Regions from separate parts of the Homo sapiens genome. Here regions 1, 2, 4, 5, 6 and 7 are each linked to region 3. Evidence: promoter capture Hi-C in 16 types of primary human blood cells and fetal thymus (Javierre and others, 2016). All regions are on one chromosome and are shown on one strand. Each heading gives the region's core, a stretch centred on a gene start or on the middle of the fragment in contact. The rest is flanking DNA. Distances are from core to core; before and after follow the strand shown.

What was found. Contacts are between HindIII fragments. The CHiCAGO score rates a contact against its expected background, and 5 or more counts as called.
Region 1: a contact is called between a fragment that was not itself captured here and the fragment with the promoter of PTPRU in region 3, in 1 of 17 cell types (M1 macrophages). The highest score is 5.9, in M1 macrophages.
Region 2: a fragment that was not itself captured here is called in contact with the fragment with the promoter of PTPRU in region 3 in 6 of 17 cell types (endothelial precursors, megakaryocytes, erythroblasts and 3 more); the score reaches 10.4 in endothelial precursors.
Region 4: a fragment that was not itself captured here is called in contact with the fragment with the promoter of PTPRU in region 3 in 2 of 17 cell types (erythroblasts and M2 macrophages); the score reaches 7.1 in erythroblasts.
Region 5: a contact is called between a fragment that was not itself captured here and the fragment with the promoter of PTPRU in region 3, in 1 of 17 cell types (M2 macrophages). The highest score is 6.2, in M2 macrophages.
Region 6: a fragment that was not itself captured here is called in contact with the fragment with the promoter of PTPRU in region 3 in 7 of 17 cell types (total CD4 T cells, M0 macrophages, M2 macrophages and 4 more); the score reaches 7.7 in total CD4 T cells.
Region 7: a fragment that was not itself captured here is called in contact with the fragment with the promoter of PTPRU in region 3 in 1 of 17 cell types (endothelial precursors); the score reaches 5.6 in endothelial precursors.

The regions. Positions count from the first base shown.
Region 1 is chr1:30,059,106-30,062,392 of GRCh38, reverse strand. No RefSeq gene overlaps it. Among named protein-coding and RNA genes, the nearest start is that of LINC01648, 23 kb to the right of the region's middle. The HindIII fragment of the contact is 2,362 bases long and covers 452-2,813 here.
Region 2 is chr1:30,108,165-30,111,781 of GRCh38, reverse strand. No RefSeq gene overlaps it. Among named protein-coding and RNA genes, the nearest start is that of LINC01648, 72 kb to the right of the region's middle. The HindIII fragment of the contact is 3,334 bases long and covers 1-3,217 here.
Region 3 is chr1:29,234,802-29,237,943 of GRCh38, reverse strand. PTPRU (protein tyrosine phosphatase receptor type U) reads right to left here and starts at 1,422. Exons shown (of 30, transcript NM_133178.4): 1 at 1,227-1,422. The coding sequence starts at 1,299. RefSeq lists a silencer at 1,300-1,619. The HindIII fragment of the contact is 8,758 bases long and covers 1-3,142 here.
Region 4 is chr1:30,128,098-30,131,528 of GRCh38, reverse strand. No RefSeq gene overlaps it. Among named protein-coding and RNA genes, the nearest start is that of LINC01648, 92 kb to the right of the region's middle. The HindIII fragment of the contact is 1,234 bases long and covers 1,169-2,402 here.
Region 5 is chr1:29,914,752-29,917,951 of GRCh38, reverse strand. No RefSeq gene overlaps it. Among named protein-coding and RNA genes, the nearest start is that of LINC01648, 120 kb to the left of the region's middle. The HindIII fragment of the contact is 568 bases long and covers 1,355-1,922 here.
Region 6 is chr1:29,856,431-29,859,707 of GRCh38, reverse strand. No RefSeq gene overlaps it. Among named protein-coding and RNA genes, the nearest start is that of LINC01648, 180 kb to the left of the region's middle. RefSeq lists enhancers at 1,041-1,540, 2,661-3,277. The HindIII fragment of the contact is 4,704 bases long and covers 1-3,277 here.
Region 7 is chr1:29,879,067-29,882,377 of GRCh38, reverse strand. No RefSeq gene overlaps it. Among named protein-coding and RNA genes, the nearest start is that of LINC01648, 160 kb to the left of the region's middle. The HindIII fragment of the contact is 2,512 bases long and covers 13-2,524 here.

The DNA of each region.
Region 1 (3,287 bases), core at 383-2,882, 820 kb before region 3:
ATCTACAGAAGAGGATAGGGCTTTGCACCAAAAAACTGGGGCAACTGTGCTGCTGGTGTCTCTTGCTGGGGCTTGAGTCTCCTACTGGGGCTTGCTGCTGGCCCCATACAAGATCCCTACTTGTACAGAGACTTGGGTTCCACTAGACAGGCTGGGTTATAGGCCCAGGTGTCAGGGCACTGGCCTGGAGATCAGCATTGCTGCAGGGCCTTTCCTGGCTCTAAGACTTGCTCAGTTTTACAAGTCATTTACAAAATGCACTGGGGCAGCACACACACGGCACACACCTCATTCTTGGAGGCCCTCTGCTTCCCAATCAACGCCTTCACTTTCAAGGAACAGACAGTAAGCTTGTGAGTCCAACGTATGATGCAATTCTACAACCCACAGGATGACATTTTAGATGTGATTTTCATTTGTGTCTGCCCTATAGCTAGAAAACACAAAAGCTTCCTTGAGGGCAATCTAATCACTGGTTATCTATCCGTGCTCTGAGCAGAGATTTGAAACACAGTGCTTGTCATTTTCTTTCTACAAACTCTCCAGTACTGTCATAAGTAGCCATTGTACTCCTCATTCCTTCTGATAGTCATGATTACTACCTCAGAGGCCAAGTGCCGCAGCCACTTGGGCTGACGATTCTCAGTGTTCAATAGGCACTTTGTCCCAGGCAACCGTAAGTGATGATTTAAGTGATTTAATGTCCCTGCACACCAAGGCATACTACAATCTCACTGTCCCTGGCCATGAGGTTCTCACTGTGTTTAAGCCTAATCAAGTCAAACAGCCCACCCCCAAATCCCATTATTGAAGGTTTGTTTCCTGGTAGCACAGCTGATACCAAGTGCTATATCATTCAGGGTTCATTTAGAAAAAACAGGAAGTACGCTAGAAATTGTAAACAGAGGGGAGTGAATGCAGGGAGCTGATTATGAAAGTGGTGAACAGGCTGAAAGGGCAAAAAGAAAAAGATAGGAAGGCCCGGCGTGGTGGCGCACACCTGTAATCCCAGCACTTTGGGAGGCTGGGGCAGACAGATCACTTCAGGTCAGGAGTTCGAGACCAGCCTGGCCAACATGGCGAAACCTTATCTCTATTAAAAATACAAAAATTAGCTGGGCGTGGTGGCAGGCGCCTGTAATCCCAGCTACTCAGGAGGCTGAGGCAGGAGAATCATTTGAGCCCAGGAGGCAGAGATTGCAGTGAGCCGAGATCACGCCACTGCACTCCAGCCTTGGCAACAAGAGCAAAACTCCATCTCAAAAAAAAAAAAAAAAAAAAAAAAAAACAGTAAAGAAAAGAAAAGATAGGAGCCCTAGTCCTGGAGGCACAAACCAGAGGAGGTGGTGCTGCAGAGCTCAAGACTGCGTGTCCTGCTGATGTAATCCATCACTAGGCCCACTGCTGCCAGAGCCACCCACACCCTGGGTAGCTGCAGCTGGCCACTGCAGCTATTGCCAGAGTCACCAAAGGGCCGTTGAGCTGGTAGCTACCTGGTGCAGCCAGAACCTCTTTCAGAAGCAGCTTCTCCCCAGCTCCCATCTTTTCGTCTTCACTAGCACTTTCCATTGTCGGTGCTAACTGGAAGCCAGCAGGCATGGGAGTCTAGGAGATGCAGCCAGCCAGGATCCAGCATCACACAATAGTGTTAATGGCACAGAGAGCAAACGGCCAGTGGACAAATGACCTGCACAGTGCTTCAGCACTTGGACTTTTGTGCTAATCAAAGCAGTTTGAAACTCAGCTCTGTGACCTTGAGCATGGCATTTAATTTTTCAGAGCTTTCTTTTACCCAAGGCTAAGGGGGGATAATAACACCCACGGCACAGGGTCGTTGTGAGGATTAAATATGCATGTAAAAGTGTCCGTGCCAGGACCTGGACATGAGACGCCCTCCCTGTAGGGGTCCTGATGTTCCCTGGTTCAGCCTCATCCTTGACTTACTCTCTGACCTTGAACAAGTGTCTGAGTCTCTCTGGGCTCTGTTTTCTCATCTGTAAAATGAATGAGGTTGGAACAGAGGCTCCACAAGGTCCCTTTAGCCCTGTTGAGCTGTATGCTGTGAATCACTCCTTAAATGAAATGGACAGGTTGGGTCTGGCAGGAGGAATAGGAGGGTCTGATTGCTGAAAAGGAGCCCAGGGAGAAGGGAAGGCGTGCCGAGGTTGTGGCTGAGTCTGAGTGCTCTGAGCTGTGTGCTTCACTGGAGAACACGCTCACATGTCAAACAGATCACACTTCAGCCATCTTAATGTTCCTTGCACCTCCAGGTTGCCCCTGGCAGCACTGACATGGTCTCTGTTCCCTTTGATGCGCTCACTCCCAGGGTGGCTCAGTTGACAAGAAATTGCCAGGAGCATCATTTTCCTGCACTCTGTAATCCAGAAGGAAAGGGGCCTTAAATTACATCCATCATGAAGATTAGGTTTGTAAGCCAGGGGCCTGTGAAGGACTTGAATGTCTGAGCTTGGAGAATCTTCCTATTTGGGCTGGAATTATGCGTTGAAACCCGCTGGAACTCAGGAGGTGCTGAGATGCCTGCAGAGGCCGGTATTCCTGGAAGTACCGCCGTCCATGGGCTAAAACATGGGGCACTTTTGTCCAGCAGAGAAGGGTTCAAGGGTCTATTGTGCCACTTGCTAATTTATGTCCTTTTCTTAGCTTCTCTGAGACTCAGTTTCTTTATTTATAAAACGAAATCATAATATGTACTGCAATTTGCACTTGGGCTGTTTTGGTTTATCCGGCATCTCTTTCTCCCTCTGTTTTTGGCACCTATCACTCCTGTCACCCTTGCTTTGGGAAGGTAAGCTTCCTGCACCCCCCAGGCCCTGATATTCTGACCAAATTATCAGTCAGTGACTCTATCCCACCTCTCTTCTTAGAGAGAGGTATCGGCATAGACTAAACCAATCACAGCAATCCATTCCCCCAGGAAATAGTGGTTGGTCCAAGTAGAGCATGTGACCAAAATCAGCCTATTAGAATCCTTGACTGGGACCATGTATATGGCTATAACAACAAGCAATTCTCTCTTTCCTATGGAATCACTAGATGGGATGATCTAAGCTTGGAGCTGCTAATGGTTATGATTCCCCTTCCACTTTCCTTTTCCTGCCTCATGAATGAATCCCATGGCAAAGAGAAAGATGCTACTACACAGTCAGAAGCAAAATGTTGAGAAACATAAGGAGTATGAGCGATCCAGTGATGTCATTGGAGCCCCTGAGTCCAGCTGTGCCTGAGGCTATTCCCTGGTGACTCACCCAGCTCTACAAGCAACTAAA
Region 2 (3,617 bases), core at 301-2,800, 870 kb before region 3:
GCGAATGAAAACACTTGTATTCATCAGAAACTTGGGAGCCAAAACAAATGTTTCCATTTATCTGTCTTCCAGTGCCTCACAGAGCCCCAGAGAGGGGCAGAGCTCAGTGGCTGGAGGAACCGTGGCCATAAGAGGGCGATCTTGCATCAGCAAAATGATGCTGTGCGAGGTCCCGGAGTGTGCGCTTTTCTGGACCTAATCCACCTCCCCCCGCCACTCCCCTCCCCACGGCGATCCCGATTTTTAGGATGACTTCTCTATAGAGTCCAGGCCACCGGCGACAGGAGGACGGATTTGATGAGTCTTCACAAGCCTCTCTGCTTGCTATTATTATTATTATTATTATTATTTTGTGATTATTTTTGTGGAGGGAATGGCTTGGACCCTGACTCATTCTGTCAGCTCGGGCCTTCTCAGTGAAGCTCTTGCCAATCATTGATTGATCAATGTGTTAAAAATAAAAAAAATCTCACCCAGGGCAAGCCACAGACTCGGAGAAAATATTTGCCAAATACATATCTGGTAAAGATATGCCCAGAGCACATAGATAACCCTCAAAACTCAACCATAATAAAACGAAGACCCTAATTATGACAGATTATCCTCTGAGCAGACGCATCACCAATGAAGAGCTAGGGTGAGAAGTAAGCACATGAAAAGATGCTCAACGTCGTTAGTTATCGGGACGGACCAAAGAAAACCACAGCGGGATGTCACTTCACCCGCCCAGGATAAAAGGGCAACTGCCTGCACCAGGGGCTGGAGGGATGAGGAGTGGCTGGGGCTCTTTTCGGGAATGCGGAGTGCAAAGCCACCTTGGGAAACAGCTTGGCAGTTTCTTAGAAAGTTGAACACACGCCACCATATGATCTGGTCATTCTGCTCCAAAGTGTTTACCTGTGAGAGAAGACATATGTCCATGCACACATTTGTGCACAAATGTTCATAGCAGCTTTATTTATAGCCACAAACTGGAAATGATCCAAATACTCATCAACAGGTGCATGGAGGAACAAAATGTGATTCATCCATACAATGAACATTTTTCAGTAATAAAAAGAAAGGAAATGTTGATACATATCACCTAGAGGAATCTCAGTGTAATTATGTGGAGTGGAAGAAGCCAGACAAGTAAGAGAACATAGTGTATGATTCCAGCAGATACAATTCTAGAAAATGAAAACTAACTGATAGTCATGGAAAGCAGATGAATTTTTGTCTGGGGCAGAGGAGGCAGGCATGGTGGTGAGTGATGGGAGGATGGGAGGGGGGCTGACCGAGGGGCAGGGGACTCACCTGGGGGTGATGTGTATGTCTGTTACCTGGACTGTGATGGTGATTTCACGAGTAGGTACATATGTCAAACTCATCAAATCAGTATGTTAAATATATACGGTTTATTGTTGTAACACAATAAAGCTGTTAAAAATTTTTAAAGGTTACTACATCGTGGAGTCCTGAGAGCTTTGAAAGACAAATGCGTTTTGCTCTGTGAAAATGTGCATCACTGGTCCCCAATTTCTCATCCCCTCTCGAGCAACCACCCTTTTCCGTGTAACTTTGCAGTGCTGTGGGCGGGCAACATGTCCTGTCCCTTGGCAGAAAACAGATGGTTCCCCCATATGACTTGCTTCGGGCAATGGGATGTCGGCAGACGTGACGCTGCTGTGACGCACTTGGGCTGGCTCTTGCATCTTACCACTGCTGTGAGAACATGGCTGGACAGCCTTCTGAAGGATGAGAGGCACACGGAGCAGAGCCAAGTTTCTCCCGTCACCCCATCCAAATTCAACTACATCAGCCAAGGTCAGCCAACATCAGCCAGCAATGATGGAACCCCCCAGACATGTAAGTGAATCCAACCAAGAGCAGCAGGGCTGCCTAGCCAACCTACAGCTGACCCCAGAGGAGTGAGCAATAAATGTGTTCTGACGTTAGCCAGTGAGGTTCTCTGGGTTTTGTTAGGCAGTTTTATTGTAGGAATAGGTAACTAATTCAGGCCCTATCAGAACAAACAGTCTGGGTCTATCTGGGAAGACTTCCTGGAGGAGGTAAAGCAAATTGTTTTGTTGTTGTTGTTGTTGTTAAGTAAGTATTTTATTTTACCTATTTTTTAATTTTTTTTATTTCCATAGGTTATTAGGGAACACGTTGGTGTTTAGTTACATGAGTAAGTTCTTTAGTGGTGATTTGTGAGATTTTGGTGTACCCATCACCCAAGCAGTATATACTGCACCCAGTTTGTAGTCTTTTATCCCTCACCCCCTTTCCAAACTTTCCCCCTGAGTCCCCAAAGCCCATTGTGTCATTCTTATGCCTTTGCCTCCCTATAGCTTAGCTCCCACTTGAGTTTTAATAGTGAGTGTGAAGTGGCCAGAGGGATAACAATGGGAGGGCAAAAGAGAAGGATGTACAAAAGTCCATAGGCTTGAGAGAACTTAGTTCAGGAAGCTGGGACCATTGCTCAGTGTGGCCAGAACCAAGGGTGGTCCCTGGAGGGGGATGGGATGGAGAGAGAAACCTGCCCCCATCCTGAGGGTCTTGAATGCGAGGCTAAGGCATTTTTAGAAAATAGGGAGCCATGGCAGGTTTTCAGTGAGGCTGGCCTTCTAGAATGATCATCACATGGCCAGGGCAGAGGGTGGATTAGAGCCAGCAAGAGTTGAAGTTGAGGCTACAGTGCAGGTGAGTGAGAATGATGGCCTAGACCCTGGCTGGGATGGAGACCCCGTGAGAGCCATTTGAGGGACAATGACCCCACAGCGGGTCCAGGTGGCTGGTGCCGCCTTTACAGAATATTCCCCCATTCCCGCCTTGTCTCAACTGGGTCGTGGAACTCGTGGCCTGGGTCAAACATACCCCTCACTGTGGCCAATTAATTTCACCTGGCCATCAATTTGTAAAGATTTACTAATCAGTAAGAGCTGGGCAATATCATGTAAGGCTCCAAGTGCAGAGGGTGCAATGAACTGCACGGGATGCTTGCAAGGTTATTGTATTGATAAGAACCCTGATTTACCTCCTGTGTTATTGTGCGTTACCTGTGACTAAATGCATCCTTTCATAATCAATCCACATTTAATTACCATTACAGATTGATTAAACGGGAAGGATGCACTCGGGTGGCATAAAGGAGGAGGTTTGTATGAAGGTGCAGTCGACATCAATGAATGGGGCTTCAGCTTCCCACTTGCTGCTCTATTAACTCCGGCAAGCTTTGCAGGATCTTTGTAGCCAGGAGAGGGTTGCAAGTTACTGGACTGCTACCTTCTAGCTATGTCTGTGGCTTCAGGCAATTCACAAAACCTCTGTGGGTTGCAGTTTCCTCTTCCTTAAAACGAGGGTAGTAATATCAACAGCAAAAAAGCATGAGCTAGTTCTTTCCTTTCAGACCCGCTGGGAGATAGTCACCCTCCTACCTTGTCCCCACCCCAGCCTAAAGCCTCTGCAGACAAAGGGCTCTTCTCAGTCCCTGGGGCAAGAAAGAGGAACTCTATTCCCTCTTCTGGGCTCCCTGTGGCCCAATCACAAGTCGCACCTTGTAGAGAGTGCAGGACTAGTGCCCTGTATCAAAAACCTGCCTGGAAGACTTAGCTCTTCTACATATAAAAGAATCT
Region 3 (3,142 bases), core at 173-2,672:
CCGGCGGCGAGCCAGGCCCTGCCCGCGCCCGGACGTCGCAGCCCAGCCCGGGGACAGCCCCCGCCCGGCCGCCCGGGGCGCAGCCGCGGCCCGGCCACCGCAGGAGCGCCCGCCGGTCCGGCCCTCCCCTGCCCGCCCGCCGGCCCCTCGCTGGGGCCCGCTGGCCCGGGCGCCCCGCAGCCCCGGCGCCGCCTCGGATCAGCCGCCCGCCAGCGCCGCGCGGAACTTGCGAAACAACAAACAGTCCGACATGCCCGAGGCGGCGGCCGCGGGGCCCGGTCCTCCCCTGAGCCTCGGGCCCTGCCCGACCCGGGCAGCCCAGGGGGCGCCGCCGCGACAACTTGTTCCGGCCCAGCGCGCCACACACGCGCACACGCACACGCGCGCACACACGTCCTGCCACCGCCCCCTCGGGCGGCCCCGGGACCAGGGCACACTCGCAGCCGCGGCCCAGGCGCGCTCCACACTCGCAACATTCCTGGACGCGCAGCCAGCACACACGGACACATTCGCACACACTCACATCCGTTCCAGACTCGCTCCCACACACGCATTCCCGGCACACTTGGCATTCACTCGGACCCACGCGGCCCCCGGCAGCACACACCACATACCCTAGACACTCCCCACACGTACACAGCGCACGGACACACACGTTCCGGACCCGTTCCCACGCCTTCACACATGTACACGGATCTCAAAAGCACACACGCCACACACGCGTTCCCGGATCCACACTCAGGCGGGATCCAGAGAGCACCCTTGGCCACAGGCATAACACAAACACACAACCCACTCGCAGACACAAAACAAACAGCACTCCCGGCCAGGCATACAAAATGCAAACAAATGCAACACATTAGCAGATACAACTCCCGCAACACAACCAAACTCAGATGCACACACAACCCACTTGGCCACACAAACACTACACACTGGCAGACCCACAAGACACTCAGCGCACACCCAATGCCTCGATGCACACAACATTCACCCCCAACATACTCGCCGACACACATCACCTTTTCTTGCGCACAGAACTCACGGACACACAACATTCGCAGTCACGCAACACCCCGGGCACACAATCGCCCATCCTACGCTCAGACACACACAGGGAGCACGCTCGTAACGCCCGGTCACTCAACACTCACACTTTCTTCCGAGCTACGCCACGGGCCCCGAGGCTCGGCGGGGCAGGCTCGGTCCGGCCGCCGCGCGCTTACCTGCCGGAGTCTCGGTCTCCGGCGCGCAGAGCTGGAAGGTGAGTGCCAGCACGAGCGCCTGGGCACGGGCCATGGTTGGAGCGTCGCCGCCCGTCCCGGGGCCCGGCGCGGGGGACGCCGCCCCCGGAGCCCGAGCCCAGCCCGAGGCGAGCCGGAGCCCGAGCCGGAGCGGAGCGGCGCGGCGCGGAGCGGGACTGGCGCCGAGTCCAGAGCGCGAGCCGGAGCAAGCGGGGCGCTGACGTCAGGCCCGGCCGCGGGTTCGGCGGTCTCGCGGCGCTCCCTGCTGGCCACGGCGGGTGCTGCAGCGGGTCCGGCCGCCCGCTAGCCCTGGCGCGCCCCTCCCCCGCTCCCGCATCCTCCCCGCCATGAGGCCCCGCGGCTGGGTCTGGACGCCCACGGACGTCTCCACGGACCGGGCACCAACACTGCCAGGCGAGCACGCTCATGGCCCACGCCTAGCTCCCGTACAGCGCTCTCAGGGACGGTGACCCAGGGACACCCGGCCTCTGTCCCATCCGATGCCTGAATCCCTTGTACCTTGGCGCCTTCAAATGCGTGTTCTACATACCTCCAGGAACAGGGCGCTCATCACCTGGCCAAGAGCGGTTGTTGGGGCTTTGGAAACGCCGGCTTTTAGAAAGTTTTTCATTTCATGACGTGCAAGTCTACCTCCCTCACTAGCCCTCACTGGTCCTACTCTACCTTCTGGCTACACAGGTTAAATGTATTTGGGCCTCTACCCAGAACGAGCCCTCGCACTATGATCTGCAAACTCGTTGCTCATTACTATGTAAGACCAGGTACCTTCTATGTGTTTAACCCACATGGACTCATTTAATCATCATATATTAGGTATGCAATAATTATACTGCATAAATACTGTTATGCAACAGTATTTGACAGCACCGAGATTTGAATCAAAGTTGTTTGGTTTGAATTGAATAGGGGCTGAGACCTTCCTCCCATCTGGACACCTATTCATTCAACAAATATTTATTGGGGTCTATTCATTTATTCAACAATTACTATAGGCCAGGGTAGAGATATAAAACAGACAAAAATTCCCTACTCTCATGGACCTTACATTCCAGTGGGAAGACAAGAACAGTAAACAACCAAAAAAACAAAAACAAAAAAGCAAACCCTCTGGTGTACGTCCTTTATCACTGTCTCATACACCAGGAAATTTGGGGGTGGTGGGGGGACAGGGAAGGGAAGGGGAATTGTTGCAATTTCAAATAGAGTGCGGGCTATATGATGAGTTCATTATCTGTCTCCACCTCTAGAAATGAGCTCCCTTGGGAAAAGACTCATCTTGTATTTCCGTGCCCAGTATATGGCATGTTTTTATTATTTTATTTTATTTTATTTTATTTCAAGATGGAGTTTCACTCTTGTTGCCCAGGCTGGAGTGCAATGGCGCAGTCTTGGCTCATTGCAACCTCTGCCTCCCAGGCTCCAACAATTCTCCTGGCTCAGCCTCCCAAGTAACTGGGATTACAGGTGCCCACCACCACGCCCGGCTAATTTTCGTATTTTTAGTAGAGACAGGGTTTCACCATGTTGGCCAGGCTGGTCTGGAACTCCTGACCTCAGGTGATCCACCTGCCTCAGTCTCCCAATGTGCAGGGATTACAGGCGTGAGCCACCGCGCCCGGCCTCTGGCACGTAATTGATGCTCAATAAATACTGACTGGATGGAATGAATGAAAGGGAAATGGTCCTAGCCTTCATGAATCTTACATTCTATTAGGAGAGCCCAACAGCAAACATGTACATAAATATATCATTACCATCTAAGATATGCAAGCTAAAGGAAACGAGGGAGTATAATGATAAAGAACATAGGGAAGGGGCATCTCCTTTAGATAAGTGGTCCAAGAGGGCTTTGCTATAGAAGTGACATGGTGACATTT
Region 4 (3,431 bases), core at 536-3,035, 890 kb before region 3:
GCTAGGGCCAGAGGAAAGGAACGCAGCCATTGCAGCCATGGCTCAAAGGGAGTGAACCAGGGAATAAGCTCCCCTGCCTCTCTCTCCTCCCATCCCCTGGTCTCCTCTGGTGCCTCCAGAACCCAACAGGAGCCAGGACACAGGAGGGCACTGGAGCCCTATTGATGCTATCCATGCAGGTCAGTCTCCTTGTACAGAGTGGGGAGGGGGTGAAGGTGTGTCTGGAGGGCACACAGAGGATAGTATATTTTCCCCTCCCCAGCCTGTGGTGGGGACTGTTAGCTCCATAATAAAGATGTGGGGCCTGATCAGGGAAGCCGAGCTGCTCAGTGATGGAGCTGACTCCAAAGCCTTCAGGCTTCCTCATCCCAGTTGAGCCTCTCCCAGCAGAACCACGGATGGTTCCCACCTATGGGCAATGGGCAAGGCATTCAATAACAGTGCTGGTTTAAGATGCCACCACCACCACTAATGGTGAACAGCTACTTAATTTCAATGAAAGAAGAACTTTCCAGAAGCTGAAGCTCTCAGTTTTGTGATGAGCCCAAGTGCCTGACCTGGCAGTGAAGTCTCATCTTCCCATGCCCCTGGCTGCCAAGTGCAGAGAGCATCTGATATGGTTTGGATTTGTGTCCCCGTGCAAATCTCATGTTGAATTGTAATTCCCAGTGTTGGAGAAGGGGCCTGGTGGGAGGTGACTGGATCAATGGGGTGAACTTCTCCCTTGCTGTTCTCATGATAGTGAGTGAGTTCTCATGAGATCTGGTGGTTTAAAAGTGTGTGGCAATTTCCCCTTTGCTCTTTCTCTTTCCTGCCCTGCAATGGTAAGATGTGTTTGCTTCCCCTTTGCGTTCTGCCATGATCATAAATTTCCTGAGGCCTCCCCAGCCATGCCTCCTGTACATCCTGTGGAACTGTGAGTCAATTAAACCTCTTTTCTTTATAAATTTCCCAGTCTCAGGTAGTTCTTTTTAGCAATGTGAGAGCAGACTAATACAGCATCCCAGGAGGGAGGGGGAGGCCTGGTGGGCAGGTGGAGACTGCTGAAGCTCCCGGGAGGGGGAGGCCTGGTGGGCAGGTGGAGACTGCTGAAGCTCCCAGAAGTGGAGAAGACTGTGGGCATAGGGGGCCCTCTGAGAGCCATAGCAGTGCCTGCCTTGCAGAAGCTTACTTGGCATTGGAGCCTTAGCCCCACACTCCAGGGAGCTGCTGGGGTGCCAGCCTCCCTCCTCAGCCAGCTCCTGCTGCAGCTGCTCTCTGTGCCAATGGAGCTGGGCGGGGCACTGCTGGTGCTAATATTGTTCAAGAACAATTGCATATAGTTCTCATCCATGAGTCTCCCTAAAGGCCTGAAATCACGGGAGGCTCTCTGATGGTGGACCCAGCTCAGGCTGGACACACTGAGCTGACCGAGGCTTGGACACAGAGGTTCTGCCCATCACATTGCTGTGTGCCCTTCAGAGAGCCACTGGGTCTCTCTGGGTGACCTCTGGCAATCCCTCAATGGAGTCCCACTTGGGGCCAGACCAAGGAGCATGGCCCCTGCTTTCAGGGACTAAAGCAGAGATGTCACGATACTGCTTGGGGGGTGTGGGAGTGGGGAGGGTTAATTTGACTGTAGACTTACTGACTCACGTCATTGCAAAAGCTGCCCATAGCCGCCCCTAGGTTGCACTCAGGCCAGGGGTGCGGGCTCTGGGCACAGTGTTCACCCTTAGGTCAGCTCTGCAGCCCCGATCTGGGCAAGAAGGGAGAAACAGGCTCTTGGAGGTGGTGCAGGGCCACTTGGGGGGGAAAATTCTGGGGTCCCAGAATGAGGTCTAAAGAGGGCCACCGTCCTGCTGGGCTCTCCGTTTGGCTCTGCAGAATCCTCACCCCAGGGAATGGGGCGCAGTGGGGGAGAGCCTAGTTGGGACCCTCCAAAGCAGAGGGGCCTCTGGTGACCTGGTTTAAAGGCAGTTCTGCCCTAAATGTTTGTCATGTCCCTTCCCCAACCCTTACCATAGCTTCAAGACCCAAACAAGCCCATCCAGTGGGCGCCCTCTCACCAGAACTGCGCACCCTCTAGCCCCCTCCTTCAGCTTGTCCCCCACCCCAACCCCTCCCCGCCTCCTCCACCCCCTGCCTGCTGGCTCTGCCCACTGGTCTGCTGGGTTCTGCTGCAAGGGGAGTGCGACTGATGGAACTTGATGGAATCTAAAAATGAGTTTTCACCGCGTGTCAACCCTTCATCTTGCACTGTGAGACTCTGAGCATTTTATAGCAGGAGAGAACGGAAACAAAAAAAAGAAAGAAAGAAAAACACTTGTGTTTCTTGAGATAAATAGGGAGTGTTGGCAAGGCTGAAGTGTTAGAAACATTTCTTGTCTGCTGTTGACACCGTGAATGCTGCCTGATAAGCTTTCCCTTATCTTCGTTGAAGTGTCTCCATGCAGAGAGAGGGCTCCATTGCCCACCCCCTCCCACCTCCTGTTTTCAGGCTGCGGGACAGGTCAGCCTCTTCCATCCACACAAACAAACCCTGTAACACCTTTCCGGCTCTGCCAGGGGCACTTCACTTGAACCAGAGTTGATTGGTTTTGCAGGTCTTCCTCTCTTGTGGGGAAGGCACACACACATAGGTGAATAAGTGGTAGTTCTCACAGTGCCCCCGCAGCACCCAATGCTGTCCTCAGCCACCAGCTCTACTGACTTCTTGGAAACATCCTCTTCTTCACTCCAGCATCTTTCTACATCACCAGGTAGAAGATCACCAGCCTTAAGCAAGCTTACCAGGCAAAGGGCCTCGGTGAACAGAGAGGCCTGAGGTGGTGGTTAGTCCTGGTGTATTAGTCTGTACTCACGCAGCTAATAAATACATACCCAAGACTGGGTAATTTATAAAAGAAAGAGATTTAATTGAATCACAGTTCCACATGGCTGGGGAGGCTTCACAATCATGGTGGAAGATGAAGGAAGAGCAAAAGGACTTCTTACATGGCAGTGGGCAAGAGAGCTTGTGCAGAGGAACTCCCATTTACAAAACCATCAGATCTCATGAGACTTACTACCATGAGAAGAGTATGGGGGAAACCGTTCCCATGAATCAATTATCTCCATCTGGCCCTGCCCTTGACTCGTGGGGATTATTACAATTCCAGGTGAGATGTGGGTGGGGACACAGCCAAACCATATCACCTGGAGTCTGGGGAACTTGACCCAACACTGAACCCCCACTGCAGAATCTGAGCCACCTGGTTCCTGCCCTGAAATTCACAGGAGCAGAACTTGGGTTCGTGGTGGGTGCCCTCACTGAAGGGAAGTGATGTAGGGTGGTTAAGGGTGTAGGCTCTTGGTTCAAATTCTGGCTCAGTCATTTCCTTGCTGTGCCACCTTGGGCAGGTCGCTTCACCCCCATGAGTCTCAGTTTTCTTGTCATGAGACATAGATAA
Region 5 (3,200 bases), core at 389-2,888, 680 kb before region 3:
CCTTCTTACAATCCCATTATGGTTCCTCATTGCCTTCTGGATAATTTTCAAAATCCTTTTAAGTAGGATTCTCAACAGCTTGAGATTGCAATCTTGTCCTAATCTCATATATGCACTCAACACCTAGTACAGAGTCTGACTTATAATAACTGTATACAGGCTGGGCGAGGTGGCTCACGCCTGTAATCCCAGCACTTTGGGAGTCTGAGGCGGATCACGAGGTCAGGAGATCAAGACCATCCTGGTTAACACGGTGAAACCTCGTCTGCTACTAAAAATACAAAAAATTAGCCAGGCGTGGTGGCAGGCGCCTGTAGTCCTGGCTACTCGGGAGGCTGAGGCAGGAGAACGGCGTGAACCTGGGAGGCACAGCTTGCAGTGAGCTGAGATCGCACCACTGCACTCCAGCCTGGGTGACAGAGCAAGACTCTGTCTCAAAAATTATAATAATAATAATAACTGTATATAATTTGTGAAAGGAAGAGAGGAAAGAAGGAAGGGAAGGGGAGGGGAGGGGAGGGGGAAGGGGAAGGGGAAGGGGAGAAAGAAGGAAGGAGAAGGGAAAGGGAGAAGGAAGAAAGGAAGGGGAAGGGGAGGGAAGGGGAGAGGAAGGGGAGGGGGAAGGGGAAGCGGAAGGGGAGGAAGAAGGAAGGGGAAGGGAAAAGGAGAAGGAAGGAAGGAAGGGGAAGGGGAAGTGGAGGGGAGGAGAGGGAGGAAAGAAGGGAAGGAAGGGAAGGAAAGGAAGGAAGGGAGGGAGAGAAGAATACTAAAATTCATGTTTTTCAGTACTCCATTATGTACAGCCTTGAGAATTCATTGAGAGTGACCATCCAAAAAACTAGGTGGGACATGATTTGTCTAAGATACTCAGGGAATCACATTCCTCTTGCCACAGTAACTGGTTCAATCAGTACAAACTCTAGGATTTTTGCTGAGAATTCTGTGACGTAGATGTCTCTGTCTTTCTGAATGGTTGGGATAAGGATCTTGAACTGAAACTTAATGCAGCCACTTTATCACCATGAATAAAGCCAGCCTGAGACCAAAATCAATACATGAAGGTGGGTATAGTAGAGAAAACTATCAAGAAGTGAACCTGACACCCTGATCAAACCACTCCTGAAGCCCACATCTGGAACTTTTTAGTTCCGTTGGTCAGTAAACTCCCTCTATTGTTTTGGGGAGTTTGTGTTTTGTTTTCTGTTTCTAGAAACTGAAAAGCTTCCTTTTCATAGAAGTTTCTGTCTTCAAAAGTCTTCAGTCTGTTGTTCTGTACTCAGCTCAGTTGTCTGATGACTTGGTTACTCAATGCTTCCCTGTGCTGGGCTCTTCTACTTGTCCTAGGATAGAAGCTTCTCCTAGGAACACAAAACTAAAAAGCAGCCCCCAATTTAAAGGGCGCGCTATTTCTGTGGGCTAAATTGTGTCCTCCCAAAATTCATGTATTGAAGTCCTAACCCCCAGTGTGACTGTATTTGGAGTTAGGGCTTTTAGGAGGTAATTAGGGTGAAATGAGGTCACAAGGGCAGGGCCCTAATCCCTATTGGATTGGTGGCCTTATAGGAGGAGAAAAGAGTGAGATCTCCCCCTCTGTCTACACGTGTAGACACCTGGGAAAGGCCTTGTGAGGACATAGCAAATAGGCAGGTGTCTGCAACCCAAGCAGATAGCCCTCACCACACACTGATCCTGCTGGCACCTTGATCTTGGACTTCCAGCTTCCAGAACTGTGAGAAAATAAGTTTCTGTGGTTTAAACCACACAGGCTGTGGGATTTTGTTCTGCTATGGGATTTTGTTCTGGCTGTCTACGCTGACGAAGACAAGCAGCCAACGAAGCACCAGGAGTCACTATTCTGGCAGAGGTGTCTACGGCATGGAAGGCAGAGCAGCTACTTCCTCCTGGTAGGATCAGGGAAAGCTTCAAGCAGGAGGTGACACCTGAGCTAGTCTCTGGTGGGTGCCGAAAATTTCACCAGGTGGGAGAGAGGAAGAGTATTCCAGACAGAGAAGACACAGGTACAAACGCCCAGACCTGAGGAGGTGCCTAATATACTGAGACAATTTCTATCATAGCCAGAGGTGAGGAGCCATGCAGGGCAGAGGCGGAGCCAGGACAGAGGCAAGGCTGGGTGTGCCCTTGGATCAGCAAGTAATCAAATGCCATGCTAAGGGGATCGGACTCCATCTAAATGCCAGGGGGCCCTTTAGAAGTCTTGAAGCAGTGAAGGAGCCATTTAGTCTTTGAAGGAGGTAGGGTCCTAAAACATCCAAGATCTTTTCCGGCTTGAAAATGCTGTGAGCCAGCAAAGCCAGCAACAACTAATGACTTTCACTGGGTGAAAGTTAATAGACTTGTTTGAATTGAGGTTGCACAAATAGATTTGAGGTTTCATGAAATCCTGGGAGGAAGCTGGGGGCAGATCACAGAGACCAGAGCTGGTGGGGGAGATCAGGGCCATAGTAACCTAGGCTTCCTTGTGTGGTGTCACATAGAAACACACAGCCAAGCACCGGGATTAGTCTTCCTAGGAACAGCCTCCCCATCCAGCTTTCGTCACCCACCAGATGTGGCTGCAGAGCCCAGACCTCCCACTGCTTCTGCTGGGAATTTACATACAGACTTCAGGAGCAGCCCCCAAGACCAGTCCCTCCAAGACCAGCCCCAGTGAAATCAAACCTTTTCCCCTTTTATTTTAGAGCCTTTAGAGTCAGACTTCCCCTTGGGAGGTGATAGATGCCCATCTCATCAAATTGGTAGAAGCCAGCAACTCTCACAGCAGTGAATAGAGACCCTTTGAAGGAAAATGTCAGGCCAATAAAACATCAAAGGCAGTTTGGCTTCCTAGGTAACAAGGAATAATGATGATGGGCTCCCAATTCCCCCAGCAAGGCAGAGCTTTGGAGATCTCCAGTGGAGGTGAAGTAAAAAGGCTTTTCCTGAACCTAATCAGGAAAAGCGTCCTCAAATGACCACATGTGGTGGATGCTGTCACAGCAGCCCTACTGGGCAGATGAGGATACTGAGGCATAGATAAGCCACGCCCTCCTCTGGTGAGTGCCTAGGTCCTGGCCTGATGGACTCCAGCCAGCACGCTCTTTACCACTCTGCTCACTAGGCAGGAAGCAGGAGCCCGCAGTGTTAGGTCCTCCAGAACCTCAAAGCTGTGTCTGTCATGGGATCAGGGTCCAGAAGTCCTG
Region 6 (3,277 bases), core at 644-3,143, 620 kb before region 3:
GGTGGCCAAGCTCATCCTAGGTTTACACCATACCCTGCCTTCTCCCGCTCTGAGCCCCAGGGCTGTTACCCCCTTAACCCATTTATGTGCCTGCTTTAATTATTATCTTCAAGGAGAGGCTCAATCAGGAGATAAACACAAAAGACCTGTTGCTGATAATGGAAGGCCCCTGCCTCCCCGGTTGTAAATGGAGGGGCTGCTGCAGCCTCTGCAATAACATGCCTTAGCCTACATCAGGGCCGAACAGCTCCCCACACAGGGTGCATCTCCCTGTCCCGCAGGTCCTGGGACCCGGGCAGTGCCTCCCAGGTACATCTCACTATCACGCAGGTCCTGGGACCCGGGCAGTGCCTCACAGGTACATCTCACTATCGCGCAGGTCCTGGGGCCTGGGCAGGGTCTCACAGGTACATCTCCCTGTCTTGCAGGTGCTGGGGCCCGGGCAGTGCCTCACAGGCACATCTCCCTAATCCTGCAGGTGCAGGGACCTGGGCAGCATCTCACAGTGGGAGGTGCATAAGCTCGGGAGACAGCCCACTTTGCTCTGCATCCCACTCTGCCACTTACTAGATGTCAGGCTTAAGTCAGGTTACCCAACCTCTGTGAATCCCAGTTTCCTCACCTATAAATAAGAAATAATACTTTTAGAACTCATGTTTCCCCTTAAAATACCAGAGAACTAAGTTCAATTCTTTGGAAGCCAGACAAGGACACTGTGAAAGGAAAATAGAATCTCGGAACCCCAAACTCACTATGCCAAAGGGAAAAGCTAAACTTGGAAGCTGAGTCACGCAAAAACGGCTGTTTCCTGTGTTCCTAAACAGATAGCTACAAGATAGAAGTCCACTTGTCTCCCCGGGTGGCCTTCCTCTCCCTGATGATGATAACAGCTTATTTTCATGGGTGTGAGCCAAGAGGAGACTAGGAATCATGCCACCACCCACCCCAAGACGAACACATATTTGATTTCTTTCTCCATTCTATGTTTATTTTATAGAAAGTGCAGATTTTCTGAGCAAGAGACAAATACGTAATGGACTGTTCCTCTACCCTGTCCTTTTCACATGCAATGTGTGGATTTGGTGAGTGCTCATCAGGGCCCTGCAAGAACGTGACCACACTGTCCCTCTTTTTCGTTCTTTCCTCCTTTCTCCTCCTGCTTGCTTTTTCCCCTTAAATATCGAAGCCCTTAAAATCCCCTTTGGAAAAAGTTCAGACCACAGATCCTACTGTGGCTTGAGTCTCATTTTCCCCAGCACACCCTCAACCTTGGCAAAATACACATGTAAATTGAGATGCGCCTCAGTTGCTTTTTTTGGTTTACAACATGGCCTTTTTGCTGCTCAGTTGCCAGCACCCAGCATAAGATGAGCATAAATGTTCTGTTCACCTGCCTTCTTGCTGCTGTGCCCTCGCCTTGCTGGCCAAGATAGCGAGCAGGGCTCGGATCTCTCCCGGTGGACCCTGCTTGTCCAGATTCCCTGTGAGCTGTTGACAAAGGCTCATCCACTACCTCTGGTGCTCCAGGATCATGAAACACTCGGTTCAGCCAGGGGAGCCTGGCAGGGCCCTTTCCATGTCTGCAGCGGCCAATCTGACTCAGGTGACCCCAAGAGGGGCCGAAGCTGATTGGAAAAGTCATCTCATTGTGGTGGAGACTGGAGAGGGTCAGGGCAGTAAGGTGGGTGAGCTCAGCAAACCTGGAAGCTGGGTTGTTTCATGCATAATTCAATGTGGGGAACATCCCTGGAGGATTCCTGCTTTTTCCCACAGTTTTCTGGTACCAGAAAATGTCTTCCTCACAGAGCACCAGCTGCCTCTGCAGGCGAAGAGGATGAGTCGCAGCAGTTGCAGGGAGCAGAGGGTCTCAACGGCCAGGGGGAACCAGGTTGGACCAACCTGCCCAGCCCCTTAGTTACCCCTGGGACTGGGGACCACCTAAGGATGGGAGAGTGTTGGATGATTCCTCTCCTGTGAGATGTGGGTGGGCCTGGATTGCCCTCAAGTCTCCCCCAGCTCCAGGATGCCACGATTCTCCTCCGTCCCTGAGCCAGGCCTTTTCCCTTCAAAAGTCTGTGGGGGCAGCAGGCAAGGGGTTCCGTGCCTCAGGTCTAGTGCCACACAGCAGACACAGGCAGGGCAGGTGCCCCAGCCAAGGCCTCCTGACACCCAGTCCAGGGCTTGGGGGTCCTCCATGCCCGTGGGAAGCCAGAGTCCATGCCATGAGGGCATGAGCTTCCTCACCTCTGCCCTCACATGGAGAAAATAAACTTGAAATAGGAGGTACCCAGAAGCCATCATACAGCTGCGGAAACTGGGTCTCAGAGAGGCCAGGTCATTTTCCCAAGATCCTTCAGGTAGGAGGTGGAAGAGCTGGGATTGCAAGCCAGGTCTCAGTGGTTGCAGAGCTGAGCTCTTAGGTGACAGAGCTTGGACCCTGGCCATGGCCTGCTCTCCTTTGGGTTCAGGAAACCCTGTCAGGGCCCAGCCTGCTCTGTTCCCTCATGTCCAGACTGTGAGAGTGGCTGTTATTTCCAAAGCCTCTGTATTTTCTTGGAACCCAACCCCAGGCCTCCACAGCTGAGCAAGCCCTGCGCCTTTAGTTTATGACAGCCCTTGAGATTGTGGCTGACCTGGGCCCGTGACACATCTGTGGCCTGCTTAGTGCCTGCTGGGATGTGGTATTGGGATTCTGGTCGTGCCTGTTAAATCTTACTAGCAGGCTTCTCATGCTGCTTCAAAGCCAGCTCCTCCTCAGAGCTCCCCCAGAGAGGCAGGAACAGCCAGGCCAAGCCTCCCAGAGCTCTGCCCGGGATGCCTTATCAAAGCACATAAAATGCCCAATTCCACCAACAGCAGCAGCCGAGCCTGGAAAGCTGAGCAGAGAGCAGAGGGCCAATGGGCAGGACAGTGCAAAGCCAAGCCCAGCCCAGCCCACTCCCCAGCCATGGGGGTGCCAGAGCTACACGCAGGGCCTGGCAGCAGTGTGAGGACACTTTTGTCTCCACGGGACTGCACTGTATCAGCACTTAGCTGAGTTTGCTGGTTCTAAGGCCCAAGTTATGCTTGGGCTGCAGCGGGCCCTCCGTTTGCATCCAGGGAGGCAGGAGCCTTCCACTGTCAGCAGCAGGTCTTTTGTGTTTATCTCCGGATTGAGTCTCTCCTTGAAGATAATAATTAAAGCAGGCACATTAAGGAAATAACAGCCCTGGGGCTCAGAGGCGGAGATGGTGGGGTGTGCTATAGACCTAGGAGGGGCTTGGCCACCAGGCAGGAG
Region 7 (3,311 bases), core at 19-2,518, 640 kb before region 3:
GGAAACCAAGCTTCCCTACTCAGATCTCTTAATATAATCCTGGGCCCTTACTGGAGATGTGGAACTTTCAGCCTGGCCTACAAGGCCCTTCCCATCCTGGTCACAGCCTCTGCCCCAGGCTCACCTTACTCCACTGCTCACCTGTCATCCTATCCACCCACAGGTGCCTCCTGATCATGCTGACCTCCCACCCCAGGGCCTTTGTACACACAGTTCCCTACACCTGGATCGCTCTCCCCTCTCCCTTTTCACCTGGAAAACTCCTGTTTATCTTTCAGTAATCAACTTAAATATCATCTTTTTGGTGAAGCCTTCTCAAACCTCCCTACCACCTCTGCACTAAGATGCAGTTTCACATATGTTTGTATGAATTTGTTGTGGTAGAATGCCTCTCTTCCATTGTAGTCTAGTCTTTGGGAGGAAAGAATCACATCTGTTTTTACTCACTGTTGTATCCCCAGCGCTTGGCACAGTGTCAGCACAGAGCGGGTACCCAGTAAAGATGGGCGAATTCATGAATGCACCATGAGTTTCAACAGTGGTCACTGGAAACGGATAAGGCTGCATTGGGGGAATGTGCCACCTTCGTTAACTTGCTTTCTGGTAGTCTCACCAGCTCGGGGAATCCCAGAGCTGCAATGTGCTTAGAGGGCAGTTTGGGAAATCCAAATTAAGGCAAGCAAAGAACGACACATGAGTGTCAAGATCAAGAAAGCACAAAAGAGTCTCTGAGGGGGCGGGAAGATGGAGATGTCAGAATGAACCCATCTCCTCCCTCCCACTGCCAGCCCACCCCAGTCCACAGAAGCATTCCTCCAATGCATATTTGGCACTGCGCAGAGTCCACCAGTCACCTCCCAACACATTCTTCTACATTTCTTTTGCTAATAGAACCTTTGGTTCAAGTGTTTATATGACTGCCCAGAACAATTACTAATACTACAATTTCCCAGCATCCCCTGCAACAAGATGTGGTCATGTGGCCATAAACCAAAAAGCATCTGAGACAGGTCCCAATCAATTTAGACTTTTGTTTTGCCAAGGTTAAGGATGCCTGCCCAAAAGGCAAGTCTGTGCCTTTGTCCAACGATGATTTTGAGGGCTTCAATATTTAAAGGGGAAAGGGTGAATATTGCAGAAAGAGGAAAATTTTTTAAAAGGTGTTGGTAAGCCGGGCACAGTGGCTCACGCCTGTAATTCCAGCACTTTGGGAGGCCAAGGTGGGTGGATCACTTAAGGTCAGGAGTTTGAGACCAGCCTGGCCAACATGATGAAAATCTGTCTCTATTAAAAATACAAAAATTAGCCAGGTGCGGTTGTGGGCACCTGTAATCTTAGCTACCTGGGAGGTTGAGGCAGAAGAATCACTTGAACCCAGGAAGTGGAGGCTGCAATGAGCTAAGACAATACCACTGTACTCCAGCCTGGGCAACAGAGTAAGACCCCATCTCAAAAAACTAAAATAAAAAATAAATAAAAGTTGTTGGTAGATAAGACACAAATGGTTGCATTCTTTTGAGTCTGATCAACCTTTAACTGAATACACAATTTACATGGGAGGTGGGTAGAGGAATAGTCACTTATGCCTTTGTCTGCTCAGTGAATCTGCATTTTTCCATCAGAGGGAGCAATCAGATATGCGTTTGTCTCAGGTGAGCAGAGGGATGACTTAGAGTTCTGTTCTTTATCCTGCACCTGTGAAGATGAGCTATCAATTTACATTGTCAGGGTGAAATGCAACAGAATAAAATGGGACACAGGTTTGCACCTGCACAGTTCCCAGCTTGATTTTTTCCCTTTGGCTTAGTGATTTTGGGGTCCCGAGATTTTTTTTCCTTTCACATGGCCCAGTTCTGCCAATGATGCTGGAGCAGAAGTTGCGTGTGTGTGTGTGTGTGTGTGTGTGTGTACATGTGTGTGTCTTTGTGTACATGGATGCACACATGTGCAACCTCTGGATTGTGCCTTTAAAGTAAAAGACCATGCCTTCCACAGCTTGGGCTTTGCCACTCACTGGCTGAGTGACCCTCTATCAGTTACTTCACCTCTCTGAGCCTCAGTGCCCTTGTTCATAAAAGCGGGAGGACAGTAAGAGCCTCTCTCTTGTGAATTCAACATTTCAGGCAACCTCTGAGCAGCCCAGAATAGAGAGAGACAGCCTCTCACCCCCTACATTCTAGATATCAGCTCTTCATTAATTTAGCCTAAGGGCTTATTGGTGCATAATACTGTGATTTGTGCTAAATTTACATCTGCCAGAACCTTTTAGGCTTATTCTCTCAATCTCAGCTTAAACATCACTTTTTTGAGAGACCTTTCATAATGCAACTTAATTCTTCTGTTATGTTTCAGAGCTCCTTGGACAGCCCCTCTGTGGACAACTTTACATTTTGCCATCATTACTTCTTCAGTGTCCTGACTTTCTTTCTGCCTTCATGAAGGCAGAACTCTTGTTTTCCTATGCTTGGTCTCTCCAGACACTTGCCCGCAGAGCTGGACTTACAACAGGCACTCAAGAGAAGCTTGCAAATGAATGAACAAATGGAACAGGTGGCCGGCCACACCTTCCCCACTGTGGACATAAATAATGGGCTTTGTGCACTGATGCTCAGAAACTTCCTCTCATATATGTATTCTTCCACTCTCCTGCATTTTTTAAACTCCTACTATGCACCAGCCCCTCTGCTAGAAACAGTGGGGAGAGGACGGGGTGTGGTCCCTCATACAAGATGCACACAGGCAGGTGAGAACATGGCCTGCAACACCAGCAGCCGGTTAACCAGCCATAGCTGCAGTGAGTCCGCAAAAGGTCAGATGACCCTTGTGGGGACTGGAGACCACGGAATGGCATTTGGCAAAGGTGTGTGGAGTCCCCACTGCCTGAGCTGGAACTCCAGCGAGGCTACTTCCTGTCTGTGACCACTGCTCTGTGCCTCACTCTCTGGACTGCAAAATGGGCTCTCATGAGGAGTGAGTGGGGGGAGGGGTGAAGCACCCGGCACTGGGCCTGGGAGCGGGGAGGGCCATCCCTGTCCATTTTCACTGGTGTCACAAGGACACAGCACCCACATGTCCTTGGCCAGCCAGGAGTCCTCACTGGGCAGATGGGAAACTGTCACCGCTCAGGGGACTGGGGTTTCCTTTGTCTCCTTTGGAGACGCCCCTCCCAGAAACATCCCAAAGACTTCCCCACCTCAGGGGTTCCTAGCTGCCTCAGGTTAGGGCAGGTCCAGTCCACAGAGCAGGGGAAGGGGGAGGGAAGGGACATCTATGAGGCCACTGATGAGGAGGACAGTGGTGGCTATGGGGAC